Regions from separate parts of the Homo sapiens genome. Here regions 2 and 3 are each linked to region 1. Evidence: promoter capture Hi-C in human tissues and cell types (Jung and others, 2019). All regions are on one chromosome and are shown on one strand. The core of a region is centred on a gene start or on the middle of the fragment in contact, and the rest is flanking DNA. Distances in the headings are between cores, read along the strand shown.

Evidence for each region. Contacts are between HindIII fragments. The study calls those that stand out against the background at their distance.
Region 2: a contact is called between a fragment that was not itself captured here and the fragment with the promoter of SLIT3 in region 1, in 2 of the 25 tissues and cell types used here (heart left ventricle and thymus).
Region 3: a fragment that was not itself captured here is called in contact with the fragment with the promoter of SLIT3 in region 1 in 3 of the 25 tissues and cell types used here (adrenal gland, dorsolateral prefrontal cortex and neural progenitor cells).

Annotation. Positions count from the first base shown.
Region 1 is chr5:169,298,472-169,303,070 of GRCh38, forward strand. It overlaps SLIT3 (slit guidance ligand 3), which reads right to left and starts at 2,668. Exons shown (of 36, transcript NM_003062.4): 1 at 2,042-2,668. The coding sequence starts at 2,238. The HindIII fragment of the contact is 12,348 bases long and covers 1-4,599 here.
Region 2 is chr5:168,882,735-168,887,333 of GRCh38, forward strand. It overlaps SLIT3 (slit guidance ligand 3), which reads right to left. Exons shown (of 36, transcript NM_003062.4): 5 at 531-602. It overlaps LOC105377713 (a long non-coding RNA gene), which reads left to right and starts at 3,838. Exons shown (of 4, transcript XR_941197.3): 1 at 3,838-3,971. The HindIII fragment of the contact is 4,078 bases long and covers 774-4,599 here.
Region 3 is chr5:169,031,872-169,036,470 of GRCh38, forward strand. The region is part of intron 4 of SLIT3 (slit guidance ligand 3); the gene reads right to left. SLIT3-AS1 (SLIT3 antisense RNA 1) reads left to right here. Exons shown (of 5, transcript NR_109897.1): 4 at 4,260-4,494. Among named protein-coding and RNA genes, the nearest start is that of SLIT3-AS1, 21 kb to the left of the region's middle. The HindIII fragment of the contact is 5,303 bases long and covers 24-4,599 here.

The sequences.
Region 1 (4,599 bases), core at 1,418-3,917:
TTCTTGGTTTCCCAAACATGGAGCACGATTTTGAAGATGCGGAAGATGTAGTTGCGAGACCCCAAGCAGCAGACCTAACATCAAAGTGAGCTGAACATTTGCAGGGTATACCAGAAGCAGAAGCAACAGCAGCCTATTCTAAGATCCAAGCCCAGCCAGAACCCTCCCAAGACTGTCTGTTTATAGATCGTGGCCCAAACTGACCCTTGTTCCAAGGATGACCAGGAGAGTGATAACGGTTGTGGGCTTAGGAACCAGTCAGGCTTGGATCCAAACACTTCACTAGCTGCACGACCTTGAGTAAATGACAAGATGGCTTAACTGTGAAAGGGAGTAATAAGCATTGCCTATGTAACTAACAGGACTGTTGGAGTGATTCAATGAGATAATACATATACACAAATCAAGGCATGAAAAGCATTTATCAAACATTAGCTATAATTATTATTTCACTAACTCATGTGGCTAGCACTGGTGTGACGAGGAGGGGAACTTAGTTTACAAGTTATAGGTATCTAAAAATACCACTAAAACAAGTTTTTCACTCCTATGGACTAACTTAATGTCTGAATTAAGGTGTGAAAACCTGGATTCTAGCCCCTTTATTGCCGTCAACTTGCTGTGTTTTCTTGGGCAAGTCATTTTACACTTCCAAGCCTGGTTTTCGACATGTGTTAATAAAGATTCGGCTCTCACCCTTTAGGATTCTGTGGTTCAACCCAACAAAACAATCACTGCACTTGTGGAAAAACAAAAAAGTACTGAGCCAAAGGAAAAAGAGAGCACCAGGAATAAGGAAGACAGTTCTGCTGAGTCTCCACCCAGAGATGCACAAAGAAGTGGAAGAGAAGAGGAGGTGGGGTGATAGGAGGTGACTAGCAGGAATAACACACTCTAGGACAATGCTTGTCATCACTACTCTCTTCCAGCCTGAAGTCAAGAAAGCAGAGTGGAAGATCCAGGCGCCTACCCCTAAGGCACATGAGGAAGGGGAGAAGAGGGAGAGCAAGACACGGAGGGAATCTACCACACTAGAGCAAACCCTCACCCACTTCTCGGCTGGGTTCCCAGTAAGGCTTCCCACCCACTCCAGCGTTTCTCCCCCACTCCCTTACCCCACCCCAACTGCGGACTAAGAGGAGCCCACCCCGGAGTCCAAGTTTTGAATCTGGTCCGAGGATCAAAATGATAAATGTTTCCAAAACGTTGACATATGAAAAGTAAATATTTGGTTGCACAATTGGGGCTAAAACTAGGGTCAATCCACCCCATTCTCCAAGCGCCTCTCCATTCGCTGCCAAGCCCAGGATCTGAGGCTGAGTGCGGTTTGTAAGATTATAACGCTCGGTCTCATTTGAAGGGCTGTCAGCATTTCCATTCTCCGGCCCCTTCGTTCGGGGAGGCATTTATAACCGAGCCATAAAAAATTCACCCGGGGCTGCAACTTGGCATCTCCCAGACTGCGCTCCAGGCAGAGCGGGTTTTGCGAGCACCCACTCTGAATCTGTCCAGTTCCTCAGAAGTTAAACCTTCACCCACACTCTCAACTTTCCTTGCAAGGGCAGCCAGAGAGCGGCTGGCCCATTCTGATCTCCAAGCAGGTCAACAGTCTCGGGCCCTCTCTCCCGCCTCCGCGCCTTGACGGCCCATCATCCTATAGCTTTCTCCTTCGCCCGCCCCCCTTTTTAACGAGCGCAGACCCCTGACCCTCACCCTAAGACCTTGAGGCTGCAGTGCTCTTGCCTCCCCTCGCCTCTCCTCAGCTACTCCTTGGAAGCTGTCAGCGGGCCCTGCGTCTGGAACCCTCACCCCTGGAGAGGCACTGCTCTTTGCCCATCGCTGGGGGTTTCGAGACCTCTCTTTCCAGATCTGACCAAGCCTACAGACCCCCAGCTCGGAGAGTGAGGGATCGTATCCAGGAAGGGATGAGAATAGAGACTGCATCCAGGGAGGCCGAGGGGAAAGGACGGATCTGGCGCCTGGGGCCCCCTCGGTGGGACCCAGGTGGGTGGCCCGCGTGGGGTGGGGCAGGGGTACTCACAGGCGCTCAGCGTTGCGGGGGATGCCCCGAGGAACCGCGCGGAGGCCCAGCCCGTGGCAGTCCACGCTGGCAGCGGAGCAGGTACACTTGGTGGGGCAGGCGACGGCTGGAGGCCCACTCAGGACGCTCGCCAGCGCCAAGGCCAGCGCCAGGCGGGCGCGCACGGCGGCGCCGACCCCTGCCCACCCGGGGGCCATGGTGTGCAGGGCCCCGCTCCTGGAGGAGGCTGCCTCTGCGGGGCAAGACGCGTGGAGCCCGAGGAGGCGCGCGGGGAGCGCGGGCGGCCTGGGGAGCGGGCGGCGGAGTTAGCGCGGAGGAGGGGCGAGCTCGGTGCTCAGGCGCACGGGGCGCGGGCGGAGCGGGGCGCTCCGGGCGGCGGCGGCGGCAGCAACAGCAGCTCCATCGGCGGGGCCGGCGCTGCCCCGCTGCGCATCGCTGGGAGTGCCCAGGTGCGGAGCGCCCCCTGGCCCCGCTGGCCCGCGGGCCGGGTTGGGGACCTGGGGCGAGCGCAATGGGGCGTGGCGCCCGGGGAGGTCCGGCTTGGGGCTGGGCTGGGGAGCGCGGCGGCTGCGGCTGGGGCACGGGGCGGCCGGGTGAGCTGGCCGGCGCTCGCTCTCTCCATTCAGTGAGCACGGCAGACACCGGAGACGCGGGGCCCACCCCTCCGGCCCCCCCCCGACCAAGAAACGCCAACTCCGCCTCCCATTGGCTGCGCCGCGCGTCATGTCGACTAAGTTGGGAACTTTGCTGGAGCGACCGAGAGCCTGGAGGGAGGAGGCAGTAGAGGAGGGAGAGAGAAGGAACCAGGGAAGGAAAGGGGCTCGGCCAGCAGGGCCCCTGGAAAGAAACACTGAAACTCATTCACTGTTAAGATCCAAGGACGGATAAGGCTCCTGACACTTTTTTTTTTTTAATTTTTGCACTGAGCTGAGCACTCTACTCATATTCTTTACTTAAGTCCACGATCTTCCAAGGGGTCGTCTGAAAACAGCTCAGAGAAGTGAAGCGACTTGCTGGAGGTCGCACAGCTGCTAGGGACGCCAAACCATGGCAGTGTCGCCCACGAAGCCGCTTCCCTACCGCACCTAGTACTCATGGCAGAGATCCACAATTTTGCCTGAAGAGCCTTGGTTGACACCAATGTACTCCACAGCTACACACACACACACACCGTGGTCCATGTTGTTGAGGTCACTGCTGGCAAACCTTACCCGGAAACTTGCCCTGCTTTGCCCAGACCCAGCGCTTGGTGGACTGGTAAAAGTAGTGATGGCAGCGACTTGGACCCCTGGATTGACAATGCCTTGTTCCATCCTCGGGTTTCTGCTTCCTGACTGGGTGACTCTGGGCCAATCGTGTCATCTCTGAGCCTTCGTTTTCTCAAATCCGGGGCCACAGTCCTACCTGGCCTCACCTCCCTGGGTTGTTTGGAGCATCACAGAAGAGAACGTGTTTTTGCAAAAGTCATTCGCAGACGAGGCATCCCTTCTGTCCCCAGCGCCTTCTTTCTTCCAGCGCCCGCTTTAAATTGGCTAGGTCTGAGCTTTTCCAGATGCCAGTGGGGAGGGGCGTGTGCGTTAGAGGCTCCATAAATACTTGTAGGAATGATTTTGTTTGTTTGTTTGAAAGGAAAGGGCAGGAACTGGAGGAAGTATTGCCCAGATTTCCTTGAGGTCCCCTCACACTGAGAAGGCCTGAATGAGCCCTGCATATATATACACACACACTGGTGCCTACGTATTCACAGCCACGCACACACTCTCACATACTCAGGCTCACACACACCCATTTATACACCGGCAATCACACACACGTGTACATGCATGCTCGCACACACACTCACATAGTGACAACTATACTCCTGAGAGCGCTTCTCTTTTCTTTCATAAGAATACTATTCTGATTTCTTCTACCTCATTTTCCTTCAAGGAAACTTTCAACTACTTGACCACATCCTGTGAATATATAGTAGAGTTGTAGATTTTATTGTATTATACTTAGCAGATTTTCAAAGTCTTAGCTTTGGGCACCCACTTGCGCGCGCGTACACACAAACACACACATACGCACACTCACTCAAACACACACACTCGAGTCCCTTCATCATTCATAAACACATTAGGTGCAATTTACTGCTGTTATTCTTGGGAACGGCTTTCTGTACAGATGCTGTTGTTATCGCCCCCTGGTGGCTGGCGAGGGTCTATGCTCCGGTCTTCAGGGTGACTTCGGTATTTAAGAACTCTAAACATCCTTTTATCCCTTTGCTCTGAAGCTTTCCTCCAAACCTTGAACCAATTTAGTACCAGGACTGAGGCAGATGAGAGAACCGGGCAAGGGCCCAAGGGCACAAAGCGTCTCAGACTGTCTGGAGCAGAAAACAGTACGGTTTTCTTTGTTTTCCCAAATGCATGCTAGAGCATGTTTTGCAATCCCTTCGGGCTGGTCCTGGATCTGTGCTCTGAGCGCAGTGGGGGACTGCGTTTTCCATTTAAGCTGCTCAGGGGGGTTTCATGAGCCAGACTGTATCTTTAAGGGACTTTATAGGCATTCAAGTG
Region 2 (4,599 bases), core at 1,563-4,062, 420 kb before region 1:
GGAAATGGATCTGGCTATGTCTCTCCAACTTCCTGGGATGTAAGTCCCCATGCTCTCTCAGGAGCCGATGATGAGCCTATTAATAAGAGTGAGAGCTTCAGCACCATCATCGTCAAGGTTCCAATTGATTGACCACGTACTATGTATGAGGCACTAAGATATTTCTTCCTTTTGAACACTTTCTCAGTTGCACAAAACATGCCCACAAGGTTACCATCCCCATTTTACAGAAGATGATAATGATGCTGGGCAAAGCTGGCTTGCACCAAGGCTCTGTAGGGCCAGGCTCTAACTCAGCAGGCACTGAGGCTCCAGTGCTCATATCTGGGGATGACTAACCAGCAAAGCACAGGTTTCTGTGACAGTATTGTGGCATCCAACGTGTGTTCCCTAGAAATCACTCAAGCACAGCCCTCAATTTCATCTCTGAAGGCACCTGGACCACCCTCTTGTCCCATCCCTCACCCTCACTCTGGTCAGAGAGCCCAAGTTAGCCACATACGTAGTGAAGCAAGGAAAACATCACTTACAGGTTCTTCACATCGGTGATGCCGCGGAACGCCTTCCTCGGGATCCCCTGGATCTGGTTTTCACTCAAATCTCTAAACAAGAAGAGAAGAGGCACACTGCATTAAAGACCCAGGCTGTCTTGATCTGCATCTCATTAAATGATAACAATCCCCCCCACCCAGGCTGCTGCCTCTGCGGTCAGAGTGTATGGCGGCTGTTTGGTCTCGGGCCCCAGGCTGCTACAAGCATTCACATTGTTCTTCAAGTGATGGCCGTTGCTGAAATGGTTACCAGGCGGAGCAGCTCGCCTCCAGGGCAGGCTCTGTGGGTGGTCTCGCACCTCCAGGCCACGAGCCAAGAGGCTGGGTTATTTGTTGCACACACTGCACCCAATTCTCTGTTTTCCCACCTCCCGGAGACAACCCCCTGCCCCCCATCCCCCCAACCCCCACACGGCATTCCTCCCCCACTGTGGGGTCAACGCCGCTCAATCTCCCATCTCTCAGTGCTGTCCTCTGCTGCTCAGGACAATCTGCCTTTGTCACAGGGGATTGGAACAGAGCCTGCCCATTCTGATTTTCTGATGGGGGATGACCACTTCAGCTTACTCGAGAGTCCCAGAGATTCCTGGGGGCCCCTAGACCTTCTTAGTGACAGGCACGATAATTTCAAATTGCATTTCCACAGGTCCATGCAAAGTGGGGGTCCCACAGGCACCTCATCTAGCATTAAGCAGTGCCAGCATGTTGCTTTGAGGAGGGTGAGGGATAGTGTCAGGTTCTACAGCTGGCTAAACCTATGTCCCCAGACTGTAAGCATTCCCAAAGCCTTACTTCCTTTCTAAGAAAGATATGGGCTGTTTTTTTTTTTTGGTTTGTTTCCCACATTTAGTTTTTGCTAGACCAAACATGTGCACTTGTTTTCACTAAGAACGCAGGCCTGCTTGGATCTCAACGAGTAATCAATCTGTAAAGACCGACCCATCAGGCCTCCAGAGCGTGCAAACTGGCCCTGCAAAACACTCATGCCAGGCCTCCTTCCAGGCTGTTCCCGCACAGCCACAGGCTGCAGAAGCCTCTCTGAGGACTATGGCGTGGTCGGGGGGTGCAGAGCCGGGGGCTAGGGACACAATGAGCTCTTTACACTTTCTTCAGATATAAAAGGTGTCTCTCTCTCTCTCTCTCACACACACACACACACAGTGCTATACATACACATTATTTTTTAAAAGAACACCCGAAAAACCCTCAAATATTAAGGTAAAAAAAAAACGTTGCAGATCTAACTACTGCTACCAATTACGAGATATATATATATATATATATATATATATATATGAAATTCCACCAATATGACCTCACAATATACAGTCTATTATAACCTATTATTTTTGCTTGCTATATTGAGAACATCTGTCCCTGTCATTAATAGTGCATTGATATCAACATTTTTAATGGTTGTATATCGTCCAATTGTATGAGTGGCTATATGGGTCCCAAATTGTTGGGTAGGCATTTATTTATTTGCTATTTAATGAAAACACTAGGGTGAACTTCTGTGCATGCACATTTTGGGGACACTTGTCTAACTATCTCCTTGGTACGGGGTCCTAGAAGGAGAACTTGCTGGTCACAGGTTAAATGGGTCCTGAGTTGACCTACGGACAGATTGTACCTGTGGACACTCCATGCTGATTTTCCAAGGGCACCTAATCAAAAGCTTTAGATGACTCCAGTTATATTTGGCAGGAGACATCAGACGACTGCCCTCCACTAAAATCTGGGCAGTCTAAATGAACATTTTGCAAAGGGGCAGGAGGGAAAAGAGGAAGCAGAAAAGAGGTGTCCACTTTTTTCTGATCTCCCATCTGCTGCTGGGACAAGCCATGTGCTCTGAGCAGCTAGCTAAAACGAAACTTGACGATCATCTGGGGCTACTTTTAGGCCCACAAAACAAGGCTGACTTGGGGTAGAGTGCCGGTGTGAGTACTAGTGGCTTCTGGGGCTGAGTAACAGGGTGCTCCCTATCTCAAATCCAGTTTCCTCTGTCTGCAACCGATGTAAGTAAATTCAGATGCACAATGAGCGCTGTCTCAGGCTCCCCCAGCCAGGCCTGATTCAATGAGCAGGGCTCCAGCCTGGAGTCGGGGCGCTGAACAAAGCCCACGATGACAGCAGAGGTCAGGCGGTGTCACCAAGGCCACTCAGCTGCTCTCCATCAGCCTCCGGAGCAGGGGCCCAGGTCCTGTCATCTGACTAATGCAATTTCCACCAGGCATCTGGGCAGCACCCGAGGCTCTGGCAGTCACAATGAGTCCAGTCTTTTCTGCCAAATGAAGCTGGTCTGTAGGCCACCGAGCCTTTGCCCACTACCCTCCCAGGATTGGCTGCTCTCTCTGGCGGCTCTGGAAGATGAGCCCCAGTCACACTTTTGGAAAATGGTTGATGATCAAAATCAGAGGCAGGGGGAGCAAACAGGAGAGAGGTTTAGAGCTGTCAGCTTGAACCATAGCTGGAAGCTGGATGAGGGGGCATGTGTTCCAGTAATGCACTAACCTTGTTTGAGTAGACAACATCCCATAATACACTGGGAGGAGTAGCAGTCGTACAAAGGTTCTGATTTGCAATACGGTGGGATGAGGAGAGGAGAGCGATATTTAAGCAGAAAAATCTGGCCATGTTGCTGGGAGACCTCCCACACAGGCAAAATCCTGCACTTGGGTGGGGCAGCGCTTTGGTTTCTGTTCACTATTTTCTTGCTGTAAATATAACCAGCCTTGCTCCTACTTTACGGAGCCAGTTGAAACACAGCTTTCTTCCCATCTCCCTGTCACTGCTTTCCTCCTGTCCCAATTGAGCAAAACAGTAGATTGTAGGGAATTTATCTGATCCCCATGACAATCTGCTTGTAAATTTTATTAATTTTATTTTCCATTGAGCTTCCCTTCTCCGGCTAACAATACTGCTGCCATCCATCTGCAGGACTGTATATTGATTTCATAAATACCTCCAGTGGGCTGACAAACTGACAGCTTCAATGGTGTTACTGATGGGGCGTGGAGGAGGGTTCAGGGCTGGGCGCTTCATTTTCGGTAACAGTCCCTTCACAATTATCGCAGGGCCTTTGTGAGAGTTCCTAATAGTGTGTTTATCTCTACGTGGTGCCAGAGCATGGAGCTATCATTAAGTACTATCCTCGAGAGAGACAAGAGCCACCATTTTCCACTGACACTTAAATAAAAATAACAAAATCTATCCACGATGCCCAAGAGCCTAGCGCTGGCCAATTTCCTGTTGGGGTTTTAGTGTCTCCCCTTTCACGAGGGAAGCAGCTCAGGGCTGAGGAGGGCAGACATGCTCAGAAGTGACCTGAGAAGGGGATTTTTGTTTTTCTAAACACTAGAAGAAAGGCATGAGATTGGAGTAGGGTGCAGGAGTGGGAGGTGTGCAGTATTTTTCTGGGTAAGTAAAGGAAGATGGCTGGTGGGAAAGGCTTTCTTGGTTGGGGAGTAGGGCTAGGAATTGGGATGCCTTTTTAAATAATTAGGGCTCTGAGAGAAAAGGAGAACTGCATTAGCTAAAGTGCATTTTCCAGCTTCCGGAAAATGATTAACCAACTGATTATTCCATCCAAAAACACAAGACCAAAGAGGACTTATTAAGGAGACAGTAAGTCAAATAGGAGTTGGCAAGAACCAATATATCCCCCTTCCAGCCACCCTCCCCACCTTTTTAATTTACTAAAATGCTTTGGACACAGATTAACTTTCTTCGCAAATTTATTATTGCTTCATCTACCCTTGAAATGGGAACTGCAGACACTTTGATAAATGGATTGAAAGGCTGTCTAGTTCCAGTGGAGCTTTTGAAATGCTTCCTGGGGCTCTCCCTGCAATGTCAGGCATGCTTTGTTCTTGGAGGAGCAGAGAATGACAGTTCCCACCTTCACCCCTACCCCTGCAAGACTAGGAGGAGGAACATGTTCTCCTCTTTGCCCTGCTGGGGACAATGCACTTGTCTTGGTCACATTCATGCTACCAGGAAATCCTGTCTGTGTTAAATGGCAGTTGGTGGAGGGAATTTGATCCTA
Region 3 (4,599 bases), core at 1,425-3,924, 270 kb before region 1:
TTTTCCTTTGTTACACAGTTAGAGGTGCCCTTGAGGGATTTTTTAATTGAATGTGGAAGAGAGAGCAGACAGCATGGACAAGACTTAGAAGAGTAAGCATGGTAGAAAATAAAAAGCACTACTTTGGATTAGGTGATGTGGTTCCAATCCTGCACCTCCATGTCCTGGATGTGTAACGTAGGACAGGCCACATAACCAACCCCTCTGGCCCTCATTTTCCCCATTTGTGACAAGGGGCTAATAATCCAAACTCAGCGGGTTATTAGGATGCCTAATTCATGTCAGTGAAAGTCGACTGTAAATGGGAAGGTACTATGAAAATACAGGATGTCATTATCATTAACCATGTCCATATATACAAAGTAATTATAATTACAGCTCTGAGTAAATATGAAAGAACATTTTTTTTATCTCTGTGTCCTGAAAATAAGTTACTGGAAACCAAGACTTTTGTGTCCTTAGGTTAGAAGTTTGGATTTGTATTTCATAAATCTACCTTTTTTATGCTAGAAACTTTACAATTGATGAATAAAAATCACTTTAATCTTTAGAACAATCACATTTGCTCAGAATTATAAAAATAGTCATATTTAGTTCATACCATGTCTTCTAAGCCTTACTCACTTATGTGCCAGTCATTTTTTTTTTTTACCATATATGTGTAAATAGTAACTTGATGTTTTACTTAAGTTGAACTTATATAGATTCCCCTCCATGTTTTAGTTTCGTTTTTTTTTTTTTCAGTGTAAAGAATACTACATGTGAAGTCATGGAGTCGATCTGCTAGTTATTTTTTTTTTTGTCCTAATTCACATGAAAATAGTTGGAGGACTGTTAACATATAATCTAAACTATCTAACAGGACCTCATATAACACTCATGAATACTATGCTTGGGAAACAAAAGCTTATTCTACTCATTTTGTAAAATGAATTTTATTGTGTATATTGAAGGAACAACATGATATGGGATACAAACACATAGTAAAAAAGATACCACAGTGAAGCAAATTAACATAGCCATCATCTCATAAGTATCCATTTTTCCTTGATTTTTTTTTTTTTTTTTTTTTTTTTTTTGGTGGCAAGAGCAGCTGAAATCTACTCCTGTAGCATGAATCCCAAATATAGCACAGTTTTCTTACCCATAGTCTTCCGGTTGTACATTAGGTCTCCAGACCTGGCCACCCTCCCTACTTAATACAGACCTCCATCTCCCATCTCCTCCCTAGCTATCCCCTGCCTGGTAATCACTGTTTTGTTCTCTATTTCTGTACAGTTGGGTTTTTGTTTGTTTGTTTGTTTTTAGATTCCACATATACTTGAAACAATGCAATCTTTTTCTTTCTTTGTCTGGTTTATTTCACTTAACACAGTGCACTCCAGGCTCGTCTATGTTGTGGCAAAGGCAAGATCTTTTTTAGGGCTGAATAATATTCCAATCTAGACATATACCACAGTGTATTCATTTGTCTGTCACCGGACACTTAGGTTGTTGCCTATGTTCACTGTCACAACGCTGCAGTGAACACAGGCATGCAGGTCTCTTTATGAGGCGGTGATTTCATTTCCTTTGGGTATGTGCCCAGAAGAGAGATTGTTAGGTCATCTGGTAATTTTATTTTTAATTTCCTTAGGAATATCCATACTATTTTACATAACAGCTGGACCAATCTACATTCCCAGCAACAATGTACAAGGGTTCTCTTTTCTTCATACCCTCACCAACATTTGTTATCTTGTGACTTGATAGTTGCCATCCAAATGGGTGTAAGGTGGTATCTCATCTGGTTTTGATTAATAATTAATTAATGATGAATGATGTTGAGCACCTTTTCATATACCTGTGGGCCATTTTTGCATATTCTCTGTAGAAATGCCTATTCAGGTCTTTTGCCCATTTTTAAATTGGGTTATGTGGTTTTTCCACTATTGTATGATTTTTTTTTTTTTTTTTTTTTGAGATGGAGTCTCACTCTGTCACCAGGCTGGAGTGCAGTGGCACAATCTCGGCTCACTGCAACCTCCACCTCCCGGGTTCAAGTGATTCTCCTGCCTCAGCCTCCCGAGTAGCTGGGACTACAGGTGTCCACCACCACGCCCGGCTAATTTTTTGTATTTTTAGTAGAGACGGGTTTTCACCATGTTGGCCAGGATGGTCTTGATCTCTTGACCTTGTGATCCACCTGCCTCAGCCTCCCAAAGTGCTGGGATTACAGGCGTGAGCCACCACACCCAGCCTTTTGTATGAGTTCTTTATGAATTTGGGATATTAACCCTTTACCATATATATGGCTTGTAAATATTTTTTTCCCAACCCATAAGCTGTTTCATTTTGTTGATTATTTCCTTTGCTATGCAGACACTTTTTAGTTTGATGTGCTCTCATTTATTTGCTTTTGCTTTTGTGTCCTGAGCCTTTGGTGCAATATCCAAAAAAAACCTGTCAAGGCCAATCAATTGTCCAGGAGCTTTTTCCCCGTGTTCTCTTCTAGGAGTTTTATGGTTTCAGATCTTACATGTAGGTCTTTTATCCATTTTGAGTCTATTTTTTGTGAGTGGTATAAGTTAAGGGTCCAATTTCGTTCTTTTACATGTGGAAATTCAGTTTTCTCAGCACCATTTATTGAACAGACTATCCTTTTCCCATTGTGTCCTCTTGGTGCCCTTGTGGAAAATTAGTTGACTAGTAAACCATTTATATTCTAGGTCTTTTTCAATATAAAATTAACATGGCCTTCCACTGGCCAAGTGGTGCCTTGGAATCACCTGGAGTGTTTCTAAAAGTCATAAGGCCCAGCTAGACGCTAGATCAAATAAATAAAAATCTCAGTTCATGGGACCCAAGCCTCAGGATTTTTAAACATTTCCTATGATTTTTTTTTTTTTTTGAGACAGAGTCTTGCTCTGTCACCCAGACTGGAGTGCAGTGGCTTGCAATCACTGCTTACTGCAGCCTTGACCTCTCCATGCTCAGGAGATCCTCCCACCTCAGCCCCTTAAGTAGCTGGGACTGCAGGTACAAGCCACCACGCCCAGCTAGTGTGTGTGTGTGTGTGTGTGTGTGTGTGTGTGTGTGTGTGTGTGTTTTGGTAGAGACGGGGTTTTGTCATGTTGCCCAGGCTGGTCTTGAACTCCTGAGCTCAAGCGATCTGCCCACCTTGGCCTCCCAAAGTGCTGGGATTACAGGTGTGAGCCACTAGTGCCCAGCATCCTTAAGATAATTTTTATGTGAACTGAGACTTAGAACCACTAACTTAGATTCTTGGATGCCTTCTAGAACTTCTAGGATTAGACAAATATTGTGGATAGACTGTAAGAGAAGAACCTGGCCATAGTGGAGACAATCACTGTTATGTTATCCAGAGGAGAGGGTCATCTTGATCAATAATATTAACAGTAGTAGTAAGAGTAATACTGCTACTACTGATGGCAACATTGAAGGCCAACTTTATGTCAGTATTCTTCCAAGTGCTTTATAAGAATTACTTCATTTAGGCCAGGCACAGTGGCTCACGCCTGTAATCCCAAAACTTTGGGAGGCCGAGGCAGGTGGATCATGAGGTCAGGAGATCGAGACCATCCTGGCTCACACGGTGAAACCACGTCTCTACTAAAAACACAAAAAATTAGCCAGGCGTGGTGGCGGGCACCTGTAGTCCCAGCTGCTCGGGAGGCTGAGGCAGGAGAATGGCATGAACCCAGGAGGTGGAGCTTGCAGTGAGCCAAGATCGCACCACTGCACTCCAGCCTGGGTGACAGTGAGACTGCATCTGGAAAAAAAAAAAAAAAAAAAAGAATTACCTCATTTACTCTTCACAACAAGACTACAAAGTGAGTACCACGATAATCTATTTCCAAGATGAGGCATCTGAGGCCCAGAGAGGTACAGTCACTTGCCCAAGGTCACACAGTACTAAGTAGTAAATCTGGAATGAGAGGCTCCTTGAAAGCAATCCTAAATTTCTATCCTTTCTTGATGGTTTTCTACTTGAAACAGTTAATATCGTAGAGTCTTGAATCCTGTTACATCAACTCCAGCATCTCCTTTCTCTGAGCCTTTTTATTAGACTTCTTTCCCCATCCCTAATTTTACAGACGAGCACATTTTATTGATGTGAAAATGAAGACTTATAAAGACTGTCCTATTTCCCAGGTCATATAACCAACTCCATGTGTGGTCCTGTGAAAGTGCCCTAACTTCTTTCAAATATGTTTTTTCTCATTTGAGTTGCAAAAATAAACCCATCTGCTTTGTAGCCATTAACATGGAAAGAAGAAGAGGCATCCAAAGTGTTGGGTCCGCATCGCCCTTGCCTTGGAGGAAGCTCCAAATAGAGGGAAGGATGGTTTCCAGCAGTCCCTGAAGTGCCTTTCCTCCTTCGTGGGATCCAGTTACACCCAGCAGACTTCAGTTTGAATAAACAGAACTAGATGAATACACCTAGGGAATCTGTGAGGCCAGCCTCAGCTTTTAACATCCAGCTACAGGGAGGTGAGAGAAGCTTCAGCCAGTTGTTTTCTAAGAGCGAGATAAAGAAACCACCCTCCAATTATGCATCAAATTCTGCTTCACAGTTGAATAAGGGGCATGAAATCG